Regions from separate parts of the Homo sapiens genome. Here region 1 is linked to region 2. The links are contacts of gene promoters, found by promoter capture Hi-C in blood cells and fetal thymus (Javierre and others, 2016). All regions are on one chromosome and are shown on one strand. Each heading gives the region's core, a stretch centred on a gene start or on the middle of the fragment in contact. The rest is flanking DNA. Distances are from core to core; before and after follow the strand shown. Region 1 has its middle 15 kb from the start of FPR2. Region 2 holds the start of HAS1 (hyaluronan synthase 1).

What was found. Contacts are between HindIII fragments. The CHiCAGO score rates a contact against its expected background, and 5 or more counts as called.
Region 1: a contact is called between a fragment that was not itself captured here and the fragment with the promoter of HAS1 in region 2, in 2 of 17 cell types (monocytes and neutrophils). The highest score is 10.2, in monocytes.

What each region holds. Positions count from the first base shown.
Region 1 is chr19:51,773,048-51,779,339 of GRCh38, forward strand. No RefSeq gene overlaps it. Among named protein-coding and RNA genes, the nearest start is that of FPR2, 15 kb to the left of the region's middle. RefSeq lists a silencer at 4,769-5,063. The HindIII fragment of the contact is 271 bases long and covers 4,812-5,082 here.
Region 2 is chr19:51,721,384-51,727,992 of GRCh38, forward strand. It overlaps HAS1 (hyaluronan synthase 1), which reads right to left and starts at 2,608. Exons shown (of 5, transcript NM_001297436.2): 1 at 2,542-2,608. The coding sequence starts at 2,550. The HindIII fragment of the contact is 33,518 bases long and covers 1-6,609 here.

The DNA.
Region 1 (6,292 bases), core at 3,697-6,196, 54 kb after region 2:
GTGTCCCCACCCAGATCTCACCTTGAATTGTAATCCCCATAATCCCCACGTGTCAAGGGAGACACCAGGTGGCGGTAATTGAATCACGGGGGCAGTTCCATGATGGTCTTGTGGTAGTGAGTGAGTTCTCATGAGATCTTGATGGTTTCATAAGCGGCTCTTCCCCCTTCACTGGGCACTTCTCCTTCCTGCTGTCTTGTGAAGAAGGTGGCTTGTTTCCCCTTCCCCTTCTGCCATGATTGTAAAAGTTTCCCGTGGCTTCCCCAGCCATGCTGAACTCTGAGTCAATTAAACCTCTTTCCTTTATAAATTACCCAGTCTCAGGCAGTTCTTTACAGCAGTATGAAAACAGACTGTCCAGGTACGGTGGCTCATGCCTGTAATCCCAGCACTTTGGGGGGCCGAGATGGGCGGATCACAAAGTCAGGAGATCGAGACCATCCTGGCTAACACGGTGAAACCCCGTCTCTACTAAAAATACAAAAAATGAGCCGGGCGTGGTGGCGGGCACCTGTAGTCCCAGCTACTCGGGAGGCTGAGGCAGGAAAATGGCGCGAACCCGGGAGGCGGAGCTTGCAGTGAGCCGAGATCGCGCCACTGCACTCCAGCCTGGGCGACAGTGGGAGACTCCATCTCAAAAAAAAAAGAAAAAAGAAAACAGACTAATACAGTGGGTTTGGACAAAAGTATAATGACTTGTATTCACCATTACAGTATCATACAGACTCGTTTCATTGCCCTAAAAATTTTCTATGCCCTGCCTATTCACCCCTACCTCCTCCCTATCCCCTGGAAACCACTGATATTTTCATTGTCTTTATAGTTTTTTCCTGTTCCAGGATGTCATATAGTAGAAATCATGAAGTATGTAGCCTTTTACGATTGGCATCTGTCATTTAGTAGGATGCATTTAAAGTTTCCTCCATGTCTTTTCATAGACTGATAGCTCATTACTTTTTAGCATTGAATAATGTCCACTGTCTGGATGTACCATCATTTATTTATCCATTCACCTACTGAAAAACATCTTGGTTGCTTCCCAATTGGACAATTATAAATAAAGCTGCTATAAACATCCATGTGCAGGTTTTTGTGTGGACAGAAGTTTATAACTTGTTTGGATAAATACCAAAGAACATGATTGCTGGATTGTATGGTAAGCATATGTTTAGTTGCATGGGAAACTGCCAAACTCTCTTCCAAGGTGGCTGTATCATTTTGCATTCCCACCAATAATGAATGAGGATGTTCCATGTCTTTGCCAGCATTTGGTTGTGTCAGTGTTCTGGATTTTGGCCATTTCTAATAGGTGTAGGGTGGTATCTCACTGTTTTAACTTGCATTTCCCTGATGATATATGATGTGTATCACCCTCTCATATGTTAACCTGGCATCTGTATATCTTCTTTCTTGAGGTGCCTGTTAAGGGCTTGGCCCATTTTTAAAATGGGCTTTCTGTGTCCTTATTGTTGAGTTTTAGGAGTTCTTTGAATATTTTGGATAACAGTCCTTTATCTGATATGTCTCCTGCAACACTCTCCCATAGAGCAGATTTTTTTTTTTTTTAGATTTTTTTTTTTTTGAGACAGAGTCTCACTCTGTCACCCACACTGGAGTGCAGTGGCACCATCACAGCTCACAGCAGCCTCAACCTCACGGACTCAAGTGATCCCCCCACTTCATCCTCCCAAGTAGCTAGGACTGCAGGTATGCACCACTATGCCCAGCTAATCATTTATTTTCTGTAGAAATGGGGGTCTCACTTTGTTGCCTAGGCTGGTCTCAAATTCCTGGGCTCAAGTGATCCTCCCACCTCAGCCTCCCAAAGTGCTGGGATTACAGGTGTGAGCCACCATGCCCAGCCAGAAATTTTCAATTTTAATAAGAATTGCCTTCTTGATTCTTTCTTTCACGGATTATATCTTTTGTTTTGTAATTACAAAGTCATTGTCAAACCAAACGTCATCTAGATTTTCTCCTATGTTATCTTCTAGGTGTTTTATAGTTTTGTCTTTTACATTTAGGTCTGCGATCCATTTTAAGTTAATTTTAGCAAAGCATGTAAGGTCTGTTTCTAAAGTTACTTTTTTGCACATGGATGTCTAGTCATTCCAGAACCATTTGTTGAAAAGACTATCTTTTCTCCATTGAATTGCCTTTGCTCCTTTGATAAAGATCACTTGACAATATTAATGTGAGTCTATTTCTGGGCTCTCTTATTCAGTTCCATTGATCTATTTGTCTGTTCTTTTGCCTGTAGTACACTGTCTTGGTTACTGTAGCTTTACAGTATGTCTTGAAATCAGATGGTGTCAGTCCTCCAACTTTGCTCTTCTTGTTCAATATTATGTTGGCTATACTGGGTCTTTTCCCTGTCCATGTAAACTTTAGAATCAGTTTGTTATATCCACAGAATAAATTGCTGGAATTTTTATTGGGATTGTACTGAATCCAAAGATCAAATTGAGGAAAACTGACATCTTGACAATCTTGAATCTTCCTAGCCCTGTACATGGACTATCTCTCAATTTCTTCAGTTCTTCTATAATTTCTTTCATCAGAGTGTTGTAGTTTTTCTCATATAGATCTTGTACATATTTTGTTAGATTTTTACTCAGTGTTTCATTTCTGAGGGACATAATGTAAATAGTATTGTGTTTTTAATTTCAAATTCCATTTGCTCACTGTTGGTATCTAGGAAAGTGATTGATTTTTTTGTACTCTGCAACCCTGCTATAATCACTTATTACTTCCAGGAATGTTTGTTATCCAATCTTTTGGATTTTCTGCATAGATGATCATGTCAGTTGTGAACAAAATAGTTTTTTTTTCTTCCTTTCCAATATGCATACCTTTTTAGTTTGTTTTTAATTGAATTAGCTAAGACTTCAGCAATGCTGAAAACCAATATGAGAGAAGACGTCCTTGCCTTGTTCCTGGCCTTACTGGGAAAGCGTCAAGTTTCCCACTGTTAAGTATAATGTTAGCTGTAGGATTTTTTGTAGGCATTGTTTATCAGATTGAGGAAGTTCCTCTTTATTCCCAGGTTACTGAGCATTTTTAAAAATTATGAATGAGTGTTGAATTTTGTCAAATACTTTTTCTGCTTCTACTGATATAACTATGTGGTTTTTTCATTAGTCTGTTGATGTAATTGATTACATTAATTAATTTTTGAAATTTGAACTAGACTTGCATACCTGGCATGAATAATTTTTATACTTTGTTTTATACATTACATTATAGTAGTTTAGACATTTTTGGGTTTGATTTCCTAATATGTTTTTGAGAATTTTTGCATCTATGTTCATGAGAGTTATTGGTCTGTAGTTTTGTTTTCTTGTAATGTCTTTAAATGGATTTGGTTATTAGGGTGATCGTGGATTTATCATGAGTTAGAAAGTCCTCCTTCTGTGTCTGTATTCTCAAAGTTCCTCATTCTTTTTAATTTTTGCATTGTATTTTATTGGATGAATGTAACAAAATTTAATCTGACCAAATTGCTTTTGATCTTTTGCTCATTACAAAAAAAAAGCTACAATGAATACCTGTGCACACACACATTCCTTTGCATGACTGTGTGTTTGTCTATAGAAAAAAATTACAATAGTTTGTAACCTAAGTGTCTATCAACAGATGAATGAACAAAAAAAAATTGTTCATATACATAATGGAGTACTATTCTGCCATGAAAAATAATGAGACTCTGTCATTTGCAACAACATGGATGGAACTGGAGGTCATTATGTTAAGTGAAATGGATCAGGCACAGAAAGACAAACTTTGTATGTTCTCACTTATTTGTGGGAGCTAAAAATCAAAACAATTGAACTCATGGAGATAGAGAATAGAAGGATGGTTACCAGAAATTGGGAAGGGTGGCAGGAGTCGGGGGAGAAGTGGGGATGGTTAATGCGTACAAAAAGAACAGAAAGAATGAATGAAACCTAGTATTCAAAGGCACAATAGAGTGAATATAGTCAATGATAAGTTAATTATATATTTTTTAAAAACTAAAAGAGTATAACTGGATTCTTTATAATCCAAAGGACGAATATTTGAGGGAATGGATACTCTATTTTCTATGATGTGATTATTACACATTGCATGCCTGATATCAAAGTATCTCATGTACCCCATAAATATATACAACTACTATGTACTATGTACCGACAAAAATTAAAAATTAAAAAAAGTAATACTAAAAAAGATCGTTTGTAATTTAGTTGATTTCTCTGCTCTTATCTACTATCAGAGCTATAAAGCCCATTGCCACATCTTAGGAAGACAACTTTTCTGAAAAACAAATAGTGATCTATTTCTTGACATGAGTGGGAGTACATGAGCATTTTGTTTTACACAAATATATTAATCTTCACGTTTATCTTTTTCTCATTGTGTGTGTTTGTGTGTGGGGTGGTTGTTATAGTCCACATTTTAAAAGCTAAGAGAAATAAGTCAGCTGGATGTAGCGGCTCATGCCTGTAACCCCACCACTTTGGGAGGCCGAGGTGGGCGAATTGCTTGGGCCCAGGAGTTCGAGACCAGCCTGGGAAACATAGTGAGACCTCGTCTCTACTGAAAATACAAAAATTACCTGGGCTTGGTGGTGCGTGCCTGTAGATCCAGCTGAAGGACTGGGGCTGAGGTGGGAGGATAGCTTGAGCCCGGGAGGCGAAGGCGGCAGTGAGCTATGATTGTGGCACTGCACTCCAGCCTGGGTGACACAGCGAGACCTTGTTTCAAATAAAAGAGGAAAAAACGAAAAATAAGTCAATCGAATTCGGGTCCCCTTTTCTTTATACCAGTAAAGCTTCATAGCTCCTGAAATTAGGCTGCTTGAAGCAGGACACCTTTCATATAGGTGCTGCAATTCTCTAAATTCATACTTGCTAGGACAGGGAGGGTCAAAGGCAGCAGGAGGAAGCCATCCCCGGCATGACTGGCTCGGGTCTCCTGGGCTCGTGAAAACGAACTCATTAGACATCGAGCTCCCTCTTGTGGCAGCTAAAAGAAAACACAAGGAAATGCAACTCTTGCTTCACTCAGTTCTGTGACCGCATTGGGAGATAACCCTTGGAAAGCTTGATTATTTGTGGGCTAGCTCGCCCAGAATACATTTCTAAGCACATCTGTACAAGTAACTTTGTTCTTTCAATGCAGAAAGTCCCCTTCATTCCAAAATGTACATTCCAGAGACGGTGGAGGCTAGAGATCTCTCCTGTATCTCATCCCATTCTATGAGTTACCAGTGCCATTAGACGAAAGAAAGTCCATGTAAATGCTTAGGATGCTGGCGACTGTTCAACTGTGATTCCATTCTATCTTTCCATCTCATGCCTCCTGCGGCTCCAAACACCATCTAGTTAACTGCGTCCCGAATGTTGACCTACACTGATGCTGTTTCATCAGAGTCAATTGGGGAGGTGTTTGTTTGTTTGTTTGTTTGTTTTAATATGGGTTAGGTCACTGCAACATCAAAGCATCTTGATTTATAAAGTTTGGAGCAGAGCACAATAATCTGTGTTTAATCACAGATTAACTTTGTTCCCTTTAGGTATTCCCTGGTAAATTGTAATGTGCAATCAGATTCCCCTGTTTTCTTTTTTTGTTTTGTTTTGTTTTTGAGTCAGGGTCTTGCTCTATGGTCAAGGCTGGAGTGCAGTGGTGCAATCATAGCTCACTGAAGCCTCAACCTCACCAGCTCAAGCGATCATCCCACCTCTGTCTCCCGAGTAGGTGGGACCACAGGAACATGCCACCACACGGGGCTTATTTCTGTGTGAGCCACTGCGCCCAGCAATGATTCCCCTGCTTTCTAGCAGTTGAATAAATACTCTTTTAACTAGAGGACATAATAAGAACTAATATTAGACCATGAGAATTAGAACTAATATTACCTCTTGGAAACACGGATATATCTTTATGGTCCACACCATAGAACAAATGGTCTTTTTTATATGCGGTGGTAACACAGCCATTGGGAGGGAAACATGGGGAGAAGTCCTAGTTAGGAAAGCAAATTTGGAGAGTGAGGCTGTGATCGTGAAATCACAGGTGTGGACAAGCTAAGCTGTCAATACTTTGTTCTTCTGAAAGAAGAGGTTCTCAGCAACAGTGAACAGAATTAATAATTTATCAGAAAAAAGTCCCCCATGCCCTTTACACCTCAATTCTTACCACAAATAGCAAACCAACTAAATCTGGATCTGATTTTTGTATGTACACACAAAGCACATAACAGTTACTGAGAAACACAGTGAAAGAGGAAGGACAACCTCTGATACAAAAA
Region 2 (6,609 bases), core at 1,358-3,857:
ATGTTGCTGGAAGAGCCCAGAATCAGAGGAAAAAGTACTTTCTGTGTGCCAGACACTACTGTACAACAACCTTAATATATATATATAAATTTTTTTTTAAATTGAGACAGGGAGCCAGAAACTGTGGCTCACGCCTGTAATCCCAGCACTTTGGGAGGCGGAGGCGGGTGGATCACCTGAGGTCAGGAGTTCGAGATTAGCCTGGCTAACATGGCGAAAGCAAAATACAAAAATTAGCCAGGCTTGGTGGCGCACGACTGTAGTCTCAGCTCCTCAGAAGGCTAAGGCAGGAGAACTGCTTGAACCCCTGAGGTGGAGGTTGCAGTGAGCCAAGATGGCACCACTACACTTCAGCCTGGGTGACAGTGCGAGACTCCATCTCGAAATAATAATAATAATAATAGAGACAGGGTCTTGCTGTGTTTCTCAAGTTGGTCTCGAACTCCCAGGCTCTAGCGATCCTCCTGCCTTGGCCCCCTAAAGTGCTGGGATTATAGGCGTGAGCTACTGCACCCGGTCTCTACAACAATCTTATAAGGCAGGTACCTTCACTGTCTTCTGTTACAGATGAGGAAACTGAGACACTGAGAGGCAAATACTTTTACCCAAGGTCACTCAGGTAATAAGCAGAGTCAGAAGTAAAACTCAGGCAGTCTGGCTCTGGCGTCCCCTCTACGCTAAACTGCCTCCTATGCCACCAGTTCCTGCCTCAAGGCTTACTGTGGGTTATTTAAATGCGTCGTTAAGATGTAGATCTTTGTGTCCAACACAGGTGTCAGCAGCCACATGTGTCTACCGAGTACTTGAAATGCAGCCAGTATCACCGAGGAACTGAGTTTTAAATTTTATTTAATTTTAATTCATTTAAATTTAAAAACTCTTACTTGATTCGGTTATTGGAAAGATTTTAAATATGTCTGGAACAAGTTGCATCTACGATGCCCCTTTTATAATTGTAAATCTTATAAAATCTAAACACAGATTAGGTATTTCCAGTGAAAAGGTAGCATCTAAGTGAGAAGTGCTATGAACACACTGGATTTTGAAGGCCAAGTCTGGGGAAAAGAAAGTAAAATAGCTCATTAACATTTATGTATTGATTACATATTGAAATGATCATATCTTATATGTAGCAGGGGTCGGCATGCTAAGACCTGCTGCAGCCTGCAGGCTAAGAATTTGTGTGTGTGTTTTTAGATGGTTTTTGAAAGCCAAAAGAAGAATAATAGTTTGTGGAGCATGAAAAATATGAAATTCAAATTTCAGTGTCCTTAAAGGAAGTTTTATTTGCATACAACCACATTCATTTGTTTATACATCATCTGTGGCTGATTCTACATTTACCACATCGAAGTTGAGTACTTTCAAAAGAGACCAGATGGCCCCCAAAAGCCTCAAATATTTAATATTGGGCCCTTTATTTAAAAAAATGTGCTGGCCCCTGACACACTGGGTTAAATAAAAATATATTATTAAAATTAATTTCACCTGTTTGTTTTTACTTTTTCAAATGTGGCCACAAGAAAATTTTAAATTAGATATTGTGGTTTTCGTTACATTTCTAGAGGACAAAACTGAGGTACAGCTTTTAAACTCTCAACATTAAACATTATTCTTTCTTCTCGAATCCCCCTTCTCTCTTCCTTTGCTTCAAACCTGGCCTTGCCTGAGTTCCTAGGGATGGCTCAATTCATGCTGGGGATCCAGAGAGTTGATTCCAGAAACACAGATGAACACACGTGTAGACACACTCCCCCACACGTGAACTCACACATGATGAGTGACACACAGAATGAAATTACTCGTGTTCTACAGGATGACCCGAGACACCCACTCAGGCCAAACACAGCGATCCCGTGACCCCCACCGACGGCCACACAGGTGAACCTGCAGACACACACCCCTCAGCAGGAAAAAGCAACACCAGCAAAGGATGTCCACGTGGCCACAAACACACAGAGCCCCAACTGAGAGTCTGGGGCAATGGGATGCACAGGGAAGATTTCAAGAGAAATAGTAGGTGACTGTCAAGCTGATACTGAACCAGATGAAATTGCTATTCTTCCAAGTTTAGAGTGGCTCAGTATCGGCGATTTCATTTGGTTCAACTTAATAGCTATTGAACGCATGAAACAGAAATCCATTCCCATGTGCCACAGGCAAATCCAACTCTCTTTCTCACTCAGTCTCTTTCATTCGCTCACTGTCGCACTCCCTCTTTCTCTCTGCCTCCCAGGGAACATAGACATACACAAGTTTGTAGCAAGATACGCAGATACAGAAATACGGACATGGCACGTCTCACCTACATGTACTTGGGATGGCCGCTCACACAGGGCAATGTATACACAGACCTGCACACTCAGCCTCACATGCTCACTGTCCCCTACACACATATGGTCACTGTCAGGCACATGGATACACACATGAAATCATGCACACACAGTTCCCCAACACACGTGGTCACACATATGGCAGTAGTTTTCCCCACATGGCTGTATACACACACACACACACACACACACACACACACACACACACCTGTCTCATCGCAGTGGGTCTGGCCGGGCTCTCTCTTCTCTCCGGCTTGCTCTCCCAGCCTCTCTGTGGCCAGAGAGCTGGAGGGGGGTCATTTGAAGACCAGCGCAGGCGGGGGCGGGAGCGAGCGCTGACGTCAGTCAGGCTAAGCTGGGCCAGGGGCTCTGAGGTCACGGCCCAGCCGGGCAGCTCCACCCGCTTCCCGCTATTACTCCCACCCCCCTCAGCCAGACGGGCCTCCCTTCCCAGGCCCCCATGTCTACCCGCGCCCCTCCTCTAGTCCTCTCTGCCATCACTCCCCCTCCTCTCCCTCCCTCCTCTATGTCTTCTTCTCTCTTCCTCCCCCCTCTCGTCCCTTGTCTCCCCTGATTTTTCTCTTCCACCTCACTTGCATTTTGGGGGTTCCCCTCATCCCCCCATCCCCTATCCCTGTATTTCCCTCCATCCCTTTCTTTCTCCCTAACCCACTATTTCTCCTCATCTCTTTGTTGGTACCCTCATCTCTCTCCCCATTACCACATTTCTCCAAGTTTCTGTCTTTCTCTCCATCCCTTTCTTCCTCTCCACTTCTCTTGCCTCCTCTCACCCTCATTTCTTTCTCTTCTTGCTTTAAAGCTCTCCCCACCTCCCCCTTCTCACCTTCCCCAGTCACCCCCGCCCTGCTTCTCCCCACAGCCGCCTCTCCTGTCCCCAGAATCCATCTCTGGGTTGGGCCCCCCAGGGACATGTCTCAGCAACTGGCAGATGGAACGAAACTCACACACGTGCGTGCTGTGGGTGTGCCTGTGTGTACGCTGGCCCGAGGCACGGCTGCCTGGAACCGGAGCTGTGAGTGAACATCTGTCCATTCAGCGCCTAACTGACGTGGGTCTGCGTGTGTGCACCAGGGTCTGGGGTGGAGAGCTGGGGCGCTGGGATTTGTATCCCCAGGGACTCAGGGATGAACACAGAGAGTTGTCGGTCAGCTGACCCTGGGGAGCCAGCCGGGGTCTGTCAGTGCTGTCACCCATCAGGGAAACTGAGTCAGAGGAAGGGTGAAAAGAGATGCGGGACCTGGGGTGCCCGAACCCCAGCCCCTCAGGACCAGATCTGTGATAAATGTCTGTTTACATGCCCTTCTTTCCATGAATTTTTTAAAAAAACTATCTGTATCTAATTCTGTTCTTCTCTCTGCTCCTCTTACTGTGAACTATTGATGTCTCACTTTCGGCCTTGGTAGCTGCCTCGGTAGCTGCCTCGTTCTTTTCTCCCTGCCTGTGACTCCAACGACCTTTGGTGTCTGGCACGGGCCAGCTCCAGGACAGGCTGAAAGACATGGAGCAGCAGAGAGAAATTCCCCCGTGCTTCTCTCTCCTCGTCTGTCCCTCCCCAAATCTCTGTCATTTTGTATCTGTCACCCCATCTCTGTTTCTCGGTCCCTCTATTTGGGTCTCTGCCTCTGTGTATTCCTGTCTGTTTCTCCTCCTCATCCCCCCTCACAGCCATTCTCTCTCTGCTTTTACCTGGGAGTGTCTGTCCCTTTGCATTTCTGAAGTCTCCCTGACTTTCTTCTTGTGTGGCTCTCTTTCTTTCTGAGTGCCTCTCCCTGACTTTCTCACTGTGTGTCCATGTGTGTGTGTCTCTTTCTCTCTGTCTCTTTTTCCCTCTATCTCCCTCCCTCTCTAGCTCTGTCTCTATCCTCCTTCCGTCTCTCTGCATCCCCATCTCTCTCTTTTTTTTTTTTTTTTTTTGAGACGGAGTCTCACTCTCTCACCTAGGCTGGAGTGCAGTGGCGTGAGCTCGGCTCACTGCAACCTCCGCCTCCCGGGTTCAAGCGATTCTCCTGCCTTAGCCTCCCGAGTAGCTGGAACTACAAGCGCCCACCACCACACCTGGCTAATTTTTTGTATTTTTAGTAGAGATGGGGTTTCACTATGTAGGCCAGGCTGGTCTCCAACTCCTGACCTCAAGTGATCCATCTGCCTTGGCCTTCCAAAGTGTTGGGATTACAGGCGTGAGCCACCGCACCTATCTCTTTGTAAGGCTCTATCTCTGTATGTGTTTCTCTGTCTCTGTCTCTCTCATTCAGTTTCTCTCCATTTCTCTGTTTCTACATCTTCGTCTCTCCCTGCAGTTCCATCTCTTCCAGCCTGTCCCGGAGCTCTCCCCTGCCAGACACCAAGTCCTCACACCAAGTCCTCACACCCTGGGGTTTTCCCCGAGGAGGCTGCGCCAGGCCAAGCCTCTGCCTGGGCCTGTCAGGGAGAAGGTGCATTCCCAAGGAGCTCGAACGCCCTTCCCACCCACCAGGGCGGGCCGGGCTGTGTCTGACGCTGTTGCCGGGAGCCGGGCTGCCTGGTGTCTGGCTGTGTCAGGATGATGGGTCCTCAGATGATCTGAGGCCAGCCCAGAGCAGAAGGGGAGGGTGAGTCCTCCGCCCAGTGGGAGGGGGCAGCGCAGGCTCCTCCCCAGAAGTGGGGCATTTGGCTGCCCAGCCCCCACCCCGCCCTGCTCGGGTGGAGCAGCTGTATAAAACCAGATGTTTCTAAAACCAGAGTGCGGTTGAGGAAGGATAACCAGGGCTTTAATCCTCAACAGTTCCCTCCTCTAAGACCCAGGAGTCCAGGTTCCCAGCACCCTCCTCCTTCAGACCCGAGAGTCCAGACCCCAGCCCTTCCTCTCTCAGGCCCAGGAGTCCAGGTTCCCATGTCCCTCCTCCCTCAGACCCAGGATCCCAGACACCCAGCCCCTCCTCCTTCAGACCCAGGAGTACAGGTTCAGAGTTCCTCATCCCTCAGACCCAGGGTCCAGACCCCCAGTCCCTCCTCCCTGAGACCCAGGAGTCCAGGCCCCCAGCCCCACCTCCCTCAGACCCAGAAGTCCAGGTCCCCAGCACCCCTCCCTCAGACCCAGGAGTCCAGGCTGCCAGCCCCGCCTCCCTCAGACCCAGGAGTCCAGGCCCCATCCCCTCCTCCCTCAGACCCAGGAGTCCAGGCCCCATCCCCTCCTCCCTCAGACCCAGGAGTCCAGGCCCCATCCCCTCCTCCCTCAGACCCAGGAGTCCAGACTCCATCTCCTCCTCCCTCAGACCCAGGAGTCCAGGCCCCCATCCCCTCCTCCCTCAGACCCTGGAGCCCAGGCCCAGGCCCCCATCCCCTCCTCCCTCAGACCCAGGAGTCTCAACTCCCAGCTTCCTTCTCCCTTAGACCTACATGTCCAGCCCCCAGAATTTCTTGCAGGAAGAGATGACCAAGGCTGGAAGCAGCCCAGACAAGTGCTGAAAGACAGGGAGCAGTGAAGCTGAACACTCCCACAGCAGGCCGGGGCTGTTGTTGGAGGGACAGGTAGGGACACCGCACCCCTCGCTAACACCCATGGCTCCTAGAAACCCCCATTCCTCTGGTGGCTGCTCTCCAGTTCCTGCCCTGGGTCCACAGTGGCCTTCCCAGCATTTCAGCCATCATCAGGAAACCTCAGGGTACAGCTTACAGAATACCTGGACAGAAGGAGCACAGGGTGGGAGAGGTAAGGCAAAAATGGAGCAAAGGCAGAGGAGAGAACATTCATTCATTGTGGGGACATCTCCTGAGCCCTGGTGGACAGGGCTGGGCTGGGCGATGCCGGGCACACAGAGATGACTCAGCCCTGGGCCCTGCCCTTGGGGAGATGCCAATCTGGTGGAGAAGACAGCTGTGTAAACAGAGGGCCACAAAACAGTACAAGGATGCACCAACCCAGCCCAAGAGTCAGGGAGGGCTTCCTGGAGGAGGTGATGCTGGCTGATGAGGCGTTAGCCGTGGTCAGGGTGGTGGTGGACGGTGGGGCAAGAAAGGGGCATCCAAGGCAAGAAATGGTGTGGCCAGTCAAAAAAGTAAGGGCGGATTGATGCTGTGAAGCACAAAGGGTGAAACAAGGGGCTGGGGGATTGTAGGGTCCCTAGTGAGGTCCGCTCATTTAGGTTTAAAAAAATTTTTTTTGGCCAGGCACAGTGGCTTATGCCTGTAATCCCAGCACTTTGGGAGGCCAAGGCGGGCAGATCACTTGAGGTCAGGAGTTTGAGACCAGCCTGTCCAAAATGGTGAAACCCCGTCT